Linked DNA regions of Homo sapiens: region 2 is linked to region 1. Evidence: promoter capture Hi-C in human tissues and cell types (Jung and others, 2019). All regions are on one chromosome and are shown on one strand. The core of a region is centred on a gene start or on the middle of the fragment in contact, and the rest is flanking DNA. Distances in the headings are between cores, read along the strand shown.

Region 1 (4,545 bases), core at 1,393-3,892:
GTCATCTCTAGTTCTTACATTATGTATCTTATGCATCAGACTACACGGCATGGATATTCAGTGCAATGGATTTGATTGTGAATTGAGGCCCCCTTTTGCAATCTTGTTGCATGTTATGTTCGTGGAGCTCCTGCAATGAGCAGAGGCTGCTAAGCAGAAGCAGCGCACAGGCTGGGGGCAGGACACAGGGCCCCCGGCCTCAGGGGAGAGGTCTGTTCCAGCCACCTCAAGTCTATTCCTGTGAGTGCCCCTCCACACCCCTCCTGGATCCCCCCACTGCAAACTCTCTCCCCCTGGCTCCGGACTCTCTCCCCGTCCTGGAATTAATAAAGACTCTGTGCAGACTGCGGTTTGCAAGTCTGAAAGCTGGTTCCTGCCCGTGTCACTGCCTCGAGAAGAGAGGGGTCCAGCTCCCCACAGTAGCCCCTGCCTTCCTCCTTCCCAGGCAGGCGGAGGCACGCAGATATACCATTGACTTCCCCTCCCCTGCAGCAGGCACATCCTGGGCATCGAGCTTCAGACCCTGCCCCTGAGCAGCCCCTAACCCCACCAACAAAGGGTGGCTTGGGGGGGCTTTCACCCCAGCATAATCTCCATCAGCTACCCTCAAAGCACCCCCAAATAAACACACACCGTAAGTAAGAGCTGTACACTGGCTGTGTGCGTACATCTTCAAGACAATTCTCCCAGCATGCCCCTACCTTCCAAAATTCCAGAGCTGCTCCCTCCAAAGACCCAGGGAAAAGGAAGGGTTTGTCCAGGGTCCTGGGGTGGCCCCGTATAGACCAAAGCCTGATAGCTGTCCTAGAAGCAGAGTACTTGCAGAGCGAGTGACGGCAACTGTGGTATTGACACCAGTCCTAGCACCAGCTGAACACAGAGCATTTTTGATCTAGCAGAAATACAAGACCACGTTGTATTTGTCTTTGCAATAATCTCTTAGCTAGGAATACTGATCACCTGTAGACAGATAAGGAAACTGATGCTCTGTGGAGAGGTTTTCCTACCAGAAAGGCTAGAGCCAGAAATTTACTTCTAGGTCCACCAATACCTGCCTTTGACCAATGCCTGCATTTGACCTTTCCACGCTGAGCCACCCCTGCTGGCACTCCAGACTGCCACAGTGCTCCTGCCTCCACAAGGGGTCTTTAACTCATCCCTCGGAGCCATCGTGGTGCAGGGAAAAGCCCACAGGGCGTGTGGCTTCCATGCTGTTCCCTGACTGGCTGTGACCTAGGACAAGGAACAAGTTTCCCTCTCCTATTCTCTAGGTCTCACATTTCTTCTCCTCTAGCAGTAGTGGGAAGTGAGGGGTGGGGGACACGACCCTCCCCTGTTCCATCCCACACTCCAACCCCCAAAATCCCCCAGGGTCCCCGTCCAGCTCAGTCCTGGGGGCAGAAATGCAGAGTTCTCCAGGAACGTGGTCCCAGCTGTTTCAGTGCAGGCCGCCCCCTCCTGGCCACCAGCGGAATGTCAGCCTTCCCAGAGGGGCCGGGAGAACAGCAGTCGAGAAGCTCCCAGACTGGTGTGGGCGCTAGCTGTGCTCAGCGTGGGGATGGGAGGTGACCCAGTGATAATGGGAAGCTGGGCTGCCTGTCAGTCTGCGGGGGGCTCCCACCTCCCTGTTCCCCCACAGGGCACCTGGGGATCCAGCCTGATTTTTACCAGACCCTGCGGCCTGCATGGGGCTGGGTATAGGGCTGTGACCTTGACCCATGCAGAATAGAACCCTGTGTGTCGGGATCCTCCATGTGCTCCAGATGCCCCTGGGGACAGCACCAACATGGCCTTAACTCCCAAGCCATTCCCCTGCCTCTAACCCCCTGGCATCTGCAGGCATCCACCCCAGACCCACCCAACACCTCCTCCCCAGCTTCAGGCGCTAGGCAGAGACCTTGGCCCCTGCAGAATGCAGCCCTGTCCAGGGTCCCCTACCTTCCCCCCAGATCCCTCCCAGAGCAATACCAACCCGGGCCTACCTTCCAGGCCATTCAACCTGCAGCCCCCCGGCCTCTGTAGACATCGCACCCCCCAAACCCCCAGACCTGCCCAATGCCTCCCCTCCCCAGCTTTGGGCAGAACCTGTCTCTAGCCAGACCTGGGGGTGTTGGGGAGTCTGGAGGGCCGGGGTGGGGGCTGAGGCGCGGGACAGCTGGCCCGTATCCTCACACTGGGCCCGGGGCCCAGCCGGAGGGGCGGGGGCCTGGCCACTCGGGCCTTGGCTGGGGCTGGGATTTTTGGCCTGGCCGCCAGGCCCTCCCTTCTGCTTCCTCTCCCGAGGGCTGTCCTGGCAGAGGCCCCCCTCGCTCTTTCTGGCGGGAACAGGGCCAGCAGCGAAAGAACAGTCGCAGAGGGAAAGCGGGAAAGAGATGGGGGAAAGTGTGTGTGTGTGAGTGTGTGCTTGTGTGCATGTGTGTGCGTGTGTGTGTCAAGGAAAAAAGCTCGCAGTCCAGCAGCCCGGGCCTGGGAGGCTTGTGAGCCGGGCCTTTCGTAATTGTCCCCTCCCCGCGGCCCCCTCCCCCAGGCCTCCCCCCTCTCCCGCCCTCCCGCCCGCCCTCTCTCCCTCCCTCTTTCCCTCACAGCCGACGAGGCAACAATTAGGCTTTGGGGATAAAACGAGGTGCGGAGAGCGGGCTGGGGCATTTCTCCCCGAGATGGCGGGTCTGACGGCGGCGGCCCCGCGGCCCGGAGTCCTCCTGCTCCTGCTGTCCATCCTCCACCCCTCTCGGCCTGGAGGTAAGGACCCCTCGCCCCTGTCCCCAGCGCTGCCCACAGCTGCGGGCCCTTTGGGCCAGGTGACTAGACGCTCAAGGGGGAGACCTTCGTCCCTGGGAACTGCAAGGGGTCCCAGGTGGGAGCCCCTCAGCCACTGGGTCCTCGGAACTGCCCCTCCCAGGAGCCAGCCCCGTGCCCAGGAGGAACCTGTCAAAGAGACACCCTCGACTCAGAATAGTCCCAGCCCAGCATCCAGGCTTTGCTGCCCTGCGAGGGCTGAGGGGGCCCCTGCTCAGGTGCCCGGGTGCCCGCCCTGTAGGGGGATCAGAGCATCCTGGGGGAGGGCCCAGCGGGAACCCCTGGGTCTGGAGACACCACAGTCTGCACACCTGTGGACACAGCTGGGGTGCACACCAGCCCTGGGGACAGGGAACCTGGGCTTGATACCAGCTCAACCGCAGTGAGCTGTGTGACCTCAGCAGGTTCCTTGACCCCTGGGAAGCCGGGATCCCCCCGTCAGGAAGGTCAGGGCTCCGCTGAGGATGGGTTTGCAGGTTGGGAAGCTGCTGCTGTGTTCTCCCTGCTGAGGCAGGCAGGGACTCCTGGTATGCATTTGTGTGTGTGTGTGTGTGTGCATGCACACAGGAATGAGCGTGCTGTGTGCTCGTGTGTGTATGTGTGCATGCACAGGTGTGCATGTGTTCAGATGCCCGGCTGTGTCACTGAACAGGGAAAGGGATTTCTGGAGGGGTACATATGTCTGCTCACAGGTTCATCCTTAGGCAGGTGTATGCGTATGTTTGGAGGAGGTATATGAAGCTGCTCCTTAGTGTGTGCAAAAGTCTGCCACCTGACAGACATGTAGACATGTACACATGTAGACATGGGCGATCTGGCATCCAGGTGTGACACTGGTGTGGACTGTCACTGTGTGTGTTATGGAGTGTGTACATCTGTGTGTGTGAATGTGTGTGCGATGTGGCACGCAAGCATGGAAAGGCGGGCTGGAGAAGGTGTCTGTCTCCTGGCAGAGGCAGTGTGGCTGAGACAGAGGCTGGAGTGGATCCTGGGGCACTGCTGGGCCATCTGCTATGTGCCCCAACCCAGGCACAGTTGGTTATGGGGTTTGAGGGTGTGCCCTGTGGGGCTGCTATGCCGCGGCCAACGGGGGAGGACAGAAGAGGCTCCCGGGCATGGGAAAAAGGAGGGCATTTGGTAGGGGGGTCTGGGTGGAGTCTGGTTTCCTCGGGAGTCCTCCTTGCCATGAGAACCAAACGCTGAGTGGGGGGCGGGAGGGCCACGGGGTGGAGTCAAGGGCCTGGGCAGGAGCTGCAGCTGTTTCCGTGAGATTGAACAGCTTCCTGTGCAGGGTCCGCTGCTGGACCTGGATGAGGCCAAGGGACATGGGTACCCACAGGCGGGCCCCAGCAGGGGCAACGAGCCAGGGCCTGAAAGCAGCAGCCCCGGGTCCGTCTCAGCCTCCTCCCCAGGTGTAGCCCCCAAACACCCAGCCACCCTTCTTCCCAGATGGGGCCACCACCTATAGGGTGGCAGTTCATCATCAAGGAACCTTGAGAATTAGAAATTATTATCATCACTTGACAAACAAGGAAGCTGAGGCTCCGGCAGGCTAAGGCAGTCCCCGGGGGTTAGTATCAGCCAGCTCTCTGCCCCAGGTCAAGGGGCAAGGGGGTTAGGAGTGAGCTAGCAGGCAACATTTGGGGAGGGGAAGGCTTGGGGCTGAGTCCTTAAAGCAGGCATGCCCTAGGCAGAATCAGCTCTCTCCTTGTGTCCTCAGTGACACCGCTAAACGCCCAGCTGGCCTCA
Region 2 (4,704 bases), core at 1,699-4,198, 550 kb after region 1:
GGCTACAAGAAAAAAAAAAAAAAAAGATGTCAGCAGGGCTGATCCTTCTGGAGGCTCTAGGGGAAAATCTATTTCCTTGTCTTTTTTTTTTTTTTTTTTTTTTTTTTTTTTTTGAGACAGAGTCTTCAGGCTGGAGTGCAGTGGCGCGATCTCAGCTCACTGCAACCTCCGCCTTCCAGGTTCAAGCAATTCTCCTGCCTCAGCTTCCTGAGTAGCTGGGATTACAGGCATATGCCAACATGCCCGGCTAATTTTTGTATTTGTAGTAGAGACAGGGTTTCACCATGTTGCCCAGGCTGGTCTCAAACTCCTGACCTCAAGTGATCTGCCCACTTTGGCCTTCCAAAGTGCTGGGATTACAGGTGTGAGCCACTGAGCACGGCCCCCTGTTTTAAGGATTAAATGAATGAATCCATGCAAAGATCAAAGAGCAGTGCCTGGCACAGAAGAGCTCAGATTCTCTGAGTTACCAAGTGCCCGTGATGGGTTGGGCATTTTTTTTATTTGTTTGTTTGTTTTGAGATGGAGTCTTGCTCTGTCGCCCAGGCTGGAGTGCAGTGGCGCAATCTCGGCTCACTGCAAGCTCTGCCTCCTGAGTTCAAGCAATTCTCCTGCCTCAGCCTCCTGAGTAGCTGTGACTACAAGCGTGCACCACCTATCCCAGCTAATTTTTTGTATTTTTAGTAGAGACGGGATTTCGCCATGTTGGCCAGACTAGTCTTGAACTCCTGGCCTCAAGCGATCCACCCGCCTCAGCCTCCCAAAGTGGTGGGATTACAGGCGTGAGCCACCGCGCCCAGCTGGGTTCAGTAATTCTTAGCATATTGCCAATTTTCCCTGCTTTCTCTCTCACACACACGCGCACACACATAATTTCTCTTTCTTTTTCTCTATTTGAAGTAAGGTGCAAACATCTTGACTCTTCGTGCCTAAATGTTTCAATGCACATCTCCTAAGAAAACACTGTTATCTTACATACTCACAATAGCATCATCGTACTTATACAACTTAATAATTCCCTGTCATCTAATACATGGTCTTTATTCAAATTTCCAAAACTGTCTTCTATGCCTGTTCTCCTCCATGATATAATCATTTTTCACTGGTTGATTTCTTTTTTAATTTTTTTTTTTTTTAAAGACAGTCTCCCTCTTGCCCAGGCAGGAGTGCAGTGGCACAGTCATAGCTTACTGCAGCCTGGACCTTCTAGGCTCAAACCATCCTTACCACCTCAGCCCCTCGAGTGGCTAGGACTACAAGCACACGTGCTACCATGCCCAGCTCATATTTTATTTTTTACTTTTGTAGAGATAGGCTGGAGTGCAGTGACACTATCACATAGCTCACTGTAACCTCCAACTCCTGGGCTCAAACAATCCTCCCGCATCAGCCTCCCAAGTAGCTGGGACTATAGCTGGGTGCCACTGTACCAGCTACTTTTAAATTTTTTGTAGACAGAGTCTCTCTATGTTACCCAAGGCTGGTCTCCAACTCCTGCCCTCAAGTGATCCTCCTGTCTCGGCCTCCCAAAGTGCTGAGATTATAGGTGTGAGCCACCACGCCAGGCTCACGGGTTAATTTTTTAAAAATTATTTTATTGCATGTAATGTTTGCCTAAACAAAAATTATTTCATTTTGCTTATAATTTTACTTTCTTTTTTTTGAGACGGAGTCTCGCACTGTCGCCCAGGCTGGAGTGAAGTAGTGTGATCTTGGCTCACTGCAACCTCCACCTCCCAGGTTCAAGTGATTCTCCTGCCTCACTCAGCCTTCCGAGTAGCTGGGACTATAGGTGCCCGCCACCACGCCCAGCTAATTTTTTGTAGAGACGGGGTTTCACTGTGTTAGCCAGGATGGTCTCCATCTCCTGACCTCACGATCCACCCGCCTCAGCCTCCCAAAATGCTGGGATTACAGGCATGAGCCACCGCGCCCAGCCTATAATTTTACTTTTATGACAAAGGCGTGTTATTGAATAGAGTCTGGGACTTGCTGTTTTCCACTTAGCTTTGGTTGACATAATGCTGAAGTGTGTAGCTGTAGCTTCTTAGTTCTCATGGCTCTATAATCTTCCATTGAGTGGAATTTTACCATGATGCAATTCCTCTCTCTCCCCTCCTTGGGGATTGGGCTGCTTCCATTGTTTTGCTGTTACTAAGAATGCAATTAACACTTATAGCCGGGCACGATGGCTCATGTCTGTAAACCCAGCACTGTGGCAGGCCACGACGGGAGGATCCCTTGAGCTCAGGAGTTTGAGACCAGCCTGGGCAACATGGCAAGACCCCATCTCTACTAAAAATACAAAAAAATTAGCCAGGCATGGTGGCATGCTTGCTATTCAAGAGGCTGAGGCGGGAGGATCGCTTCAGCCCAGGAGGCAGAGGTTGCAGTGAGCTGAGATCATGCCACTGCACTCCAGCCTGGGCAACAGAGCGAGATCCTGTCTCAAAAAAAAAAAAAAAGCAGAGGAGGAGAAGCATAGATCCGTTAAAAAGTTTAAGGCCCAGCCTGGTGACTCGCCCCTGTAATCCCAACACTTTGGGAGGCTGAGGCGGAAGAATTGCTTGAAGCCAGGAGTTTGAGATCAACCTGGGCAACATAGCAAGATCCTGTCTCTACAAAAATGTTAAAATTAGCCAGACGTGGTGGTATGCACCTGTAGGCCCATGTACTCAGGAGACTGCGGCAGGAGGATGAGGTCAAGGCTGCAGTGAGCTAGGATCGCACTACTGCATGGGTGACAAAATGAGACTACATCTCTAAAAAAAAATTTTTTTTGAAAAGGAAGAGGAAGAAGGCCAGGCGCAGTGGCTCATGCCCGTAATCCCAGCACTTTGGGAGACCGAGGCAGGCGGATCACCTGAGGTCAGGAGTTCAAGACCAGCCTGACCAACATGATGAAACCCCGTCTCTACTAAAAATACAAAAATTAGCCAAGCGTGGTGGCTCGTGCCGGTAGTCTCAGCTACTTAGGAGGCTAAGGCAGGAGAATTGCTGGAACCTGGGAGGCGGAGGTTGCAGTGAGCCCAGATCACGCCACCGCACTCCACCCTGAGCGACAGAGCAAGACTCCATCTTAAGAAAAAAAAAAAAAAAACTACAGTTCCCTTTGTAAAATGGGTTTTTGGTAGAGACAGTGTCTTGCTGTCATTCCGGCTAGAGTCCAGTAGCTGGGACTACAGGTGTGGGCCACCATGCCCAGCTAATTTTTCCATTTTTATAGAGATGGGATCTTGCTATGTTGCCCAGGCTACATTTTTTTTTAAATCATGAGTTTTTGAAGGAAATTGGATAGGGCAGGCTGTGGTAGGGGATGGATTGGACAAGCCCCTGCTTGAATGCCTGCATACAGTGGGGAAAAGGGGGATCAAAATGGGTCAAGCCTTAAGGGTCCCTCCTGCACGCAGTGTCCAGGTGCAGGTCTGGGATGGCAGAAGAACCACAGGCTCATGAGCACTGGCCTGGGCACAGGTCCACAGGTCTCTGCCCCGCTGCAGCTTGGCCCTCCTCTCTCCAGGCCTCAGTTATCTCATCCATGAAATGGAGCTGATGGAATTCCTGCTAAACCTGTGCGCAGGCCCTACAAGGGGTTAAAAGCTGAACCTGAATGTAGCTTTTTTATTTTTTCGAGACCGGGTCTCACTCTGTCACCCAGGCTGGAATGCAGTGGTGCAATCGCTGCAGCCGTGAACTCTGCCCGGGCCTGGCAGGGAGTTGGGGCTCTGTGAAGTGGTTCAGGAGGGGAGAGAAGGACCATTATCCCACGCTTCTGCTACAGATCGCAGTCTCTCCCCTCTAAACCGCCCTTGCCCTTCGCTGGCTGCGTCTCCCTGCTGTGAATGGTCGTAATTACCAACGTGAGGTCGTCAGTCTGAGCTGAAGTCCTCTAACTAGGCGGGGAGAGTCAGGGCTGGCCAGGGCTCTTGCACTTTGCCCCGAGAGAGAGCCGTGGAGCCAGCCCAGGCACCACCCGAGCCAGTTGGTTTAAAATTGTGTACATAGCATGGCTGTGATTCAGTGAGCTTGGTTGTCTTTTTTTTTTCCCCCTTGGCAAATTTCAGTTACTCCTTGGGCTAACAGACAGCAGACTGGTAAAGATAAGATGAGAGTTGCCCAGCCAGCGTTAAAGAGAGAGAGGAGACCGAAGAACAGAATGAGCAGGAGGGGGGCAGGAAAAATGTCAAGGGAAGGCCTGTCCACCAAAGGTGTCACTGTCCAGGGGCAGTGGGCAGGAGGTCGCTGCTGCGGGGATGGGTTCTTTCAGCAGGACTTTCTGCACAGCACTGGGGGCAGAAACATGAAGGTGAAACCCTACACACACTGAGTCCTAACTATGACATTTCCAAACAGAGAACACTCTGAAATGTTTGCAACTGTGGGTGTCTTTACAGCCAGCCTGGGTTCAGGGGAGCTCAGGCAGGTCCTCCCGAGAATAGGTTTGCTGACTTGGTGTTCCGGACGGTAAACTAAACCCCCTTTTCTGGGGGGGGTTGGGGGGAGACGGAGTTTTGCTCTTGTTGCCCAGGCTGGAGTGCAGTGGCGCCATCTCGGCTCACTGCAACCTCCGCCTCCCGGGTTCAAGTGATTCTCCTGCCTCAGCCTCCCAAGTAGCTGGGATTACAGGCACCCGCCACTATGCCCGGCTAATTTTTTTTTATTAGTAGTAGAGATGAGGTTTCACCATGTTGGCCAGGCTGGTCT

The links. Contacts are between HindIII fragments. The study calls those that stand out against the background at their distance.
Region 2: a fragment that was not itself captured here is called in contact with the fragment with the promoter of ELN in region 1 in 1 of the 25 tissues and cell types used here (IMR-90 fibroblasts).

Annotation. Positions count from the first base shown.
Region 1 is chr7:74,025,531-74,030,075 of GRCh38, forward strand. It overlaps ELN (elastin), which reads left to right and starts at 2,643. Exons shown (of 33, transcript NM_000501.4): 1 at 2,643-2,739. The coding sequence starts at 2,658. RefSeq lists enhancers at 1,054-2,026, 2,999-3,970. The HindIII fragment of the contact is 22,090 bases long and covers 1-4,545 here.
Region 2 is chr7:74,576,537-74,581,240 of GRCh38, forward strand. All of the region lies in intron 22 of GTF2IRD1 (GTF2I repeat domain containing 1), which reads left to right. Among named protein-coding and RNA genes, the nearest start is that of MIR10525, 17 kb to the right of the region's middle. RefSeq lists an enhancer at 4,480-4,704. The HindIII fragment of the contact is 6,229 bases long and covers 1-4,704 here.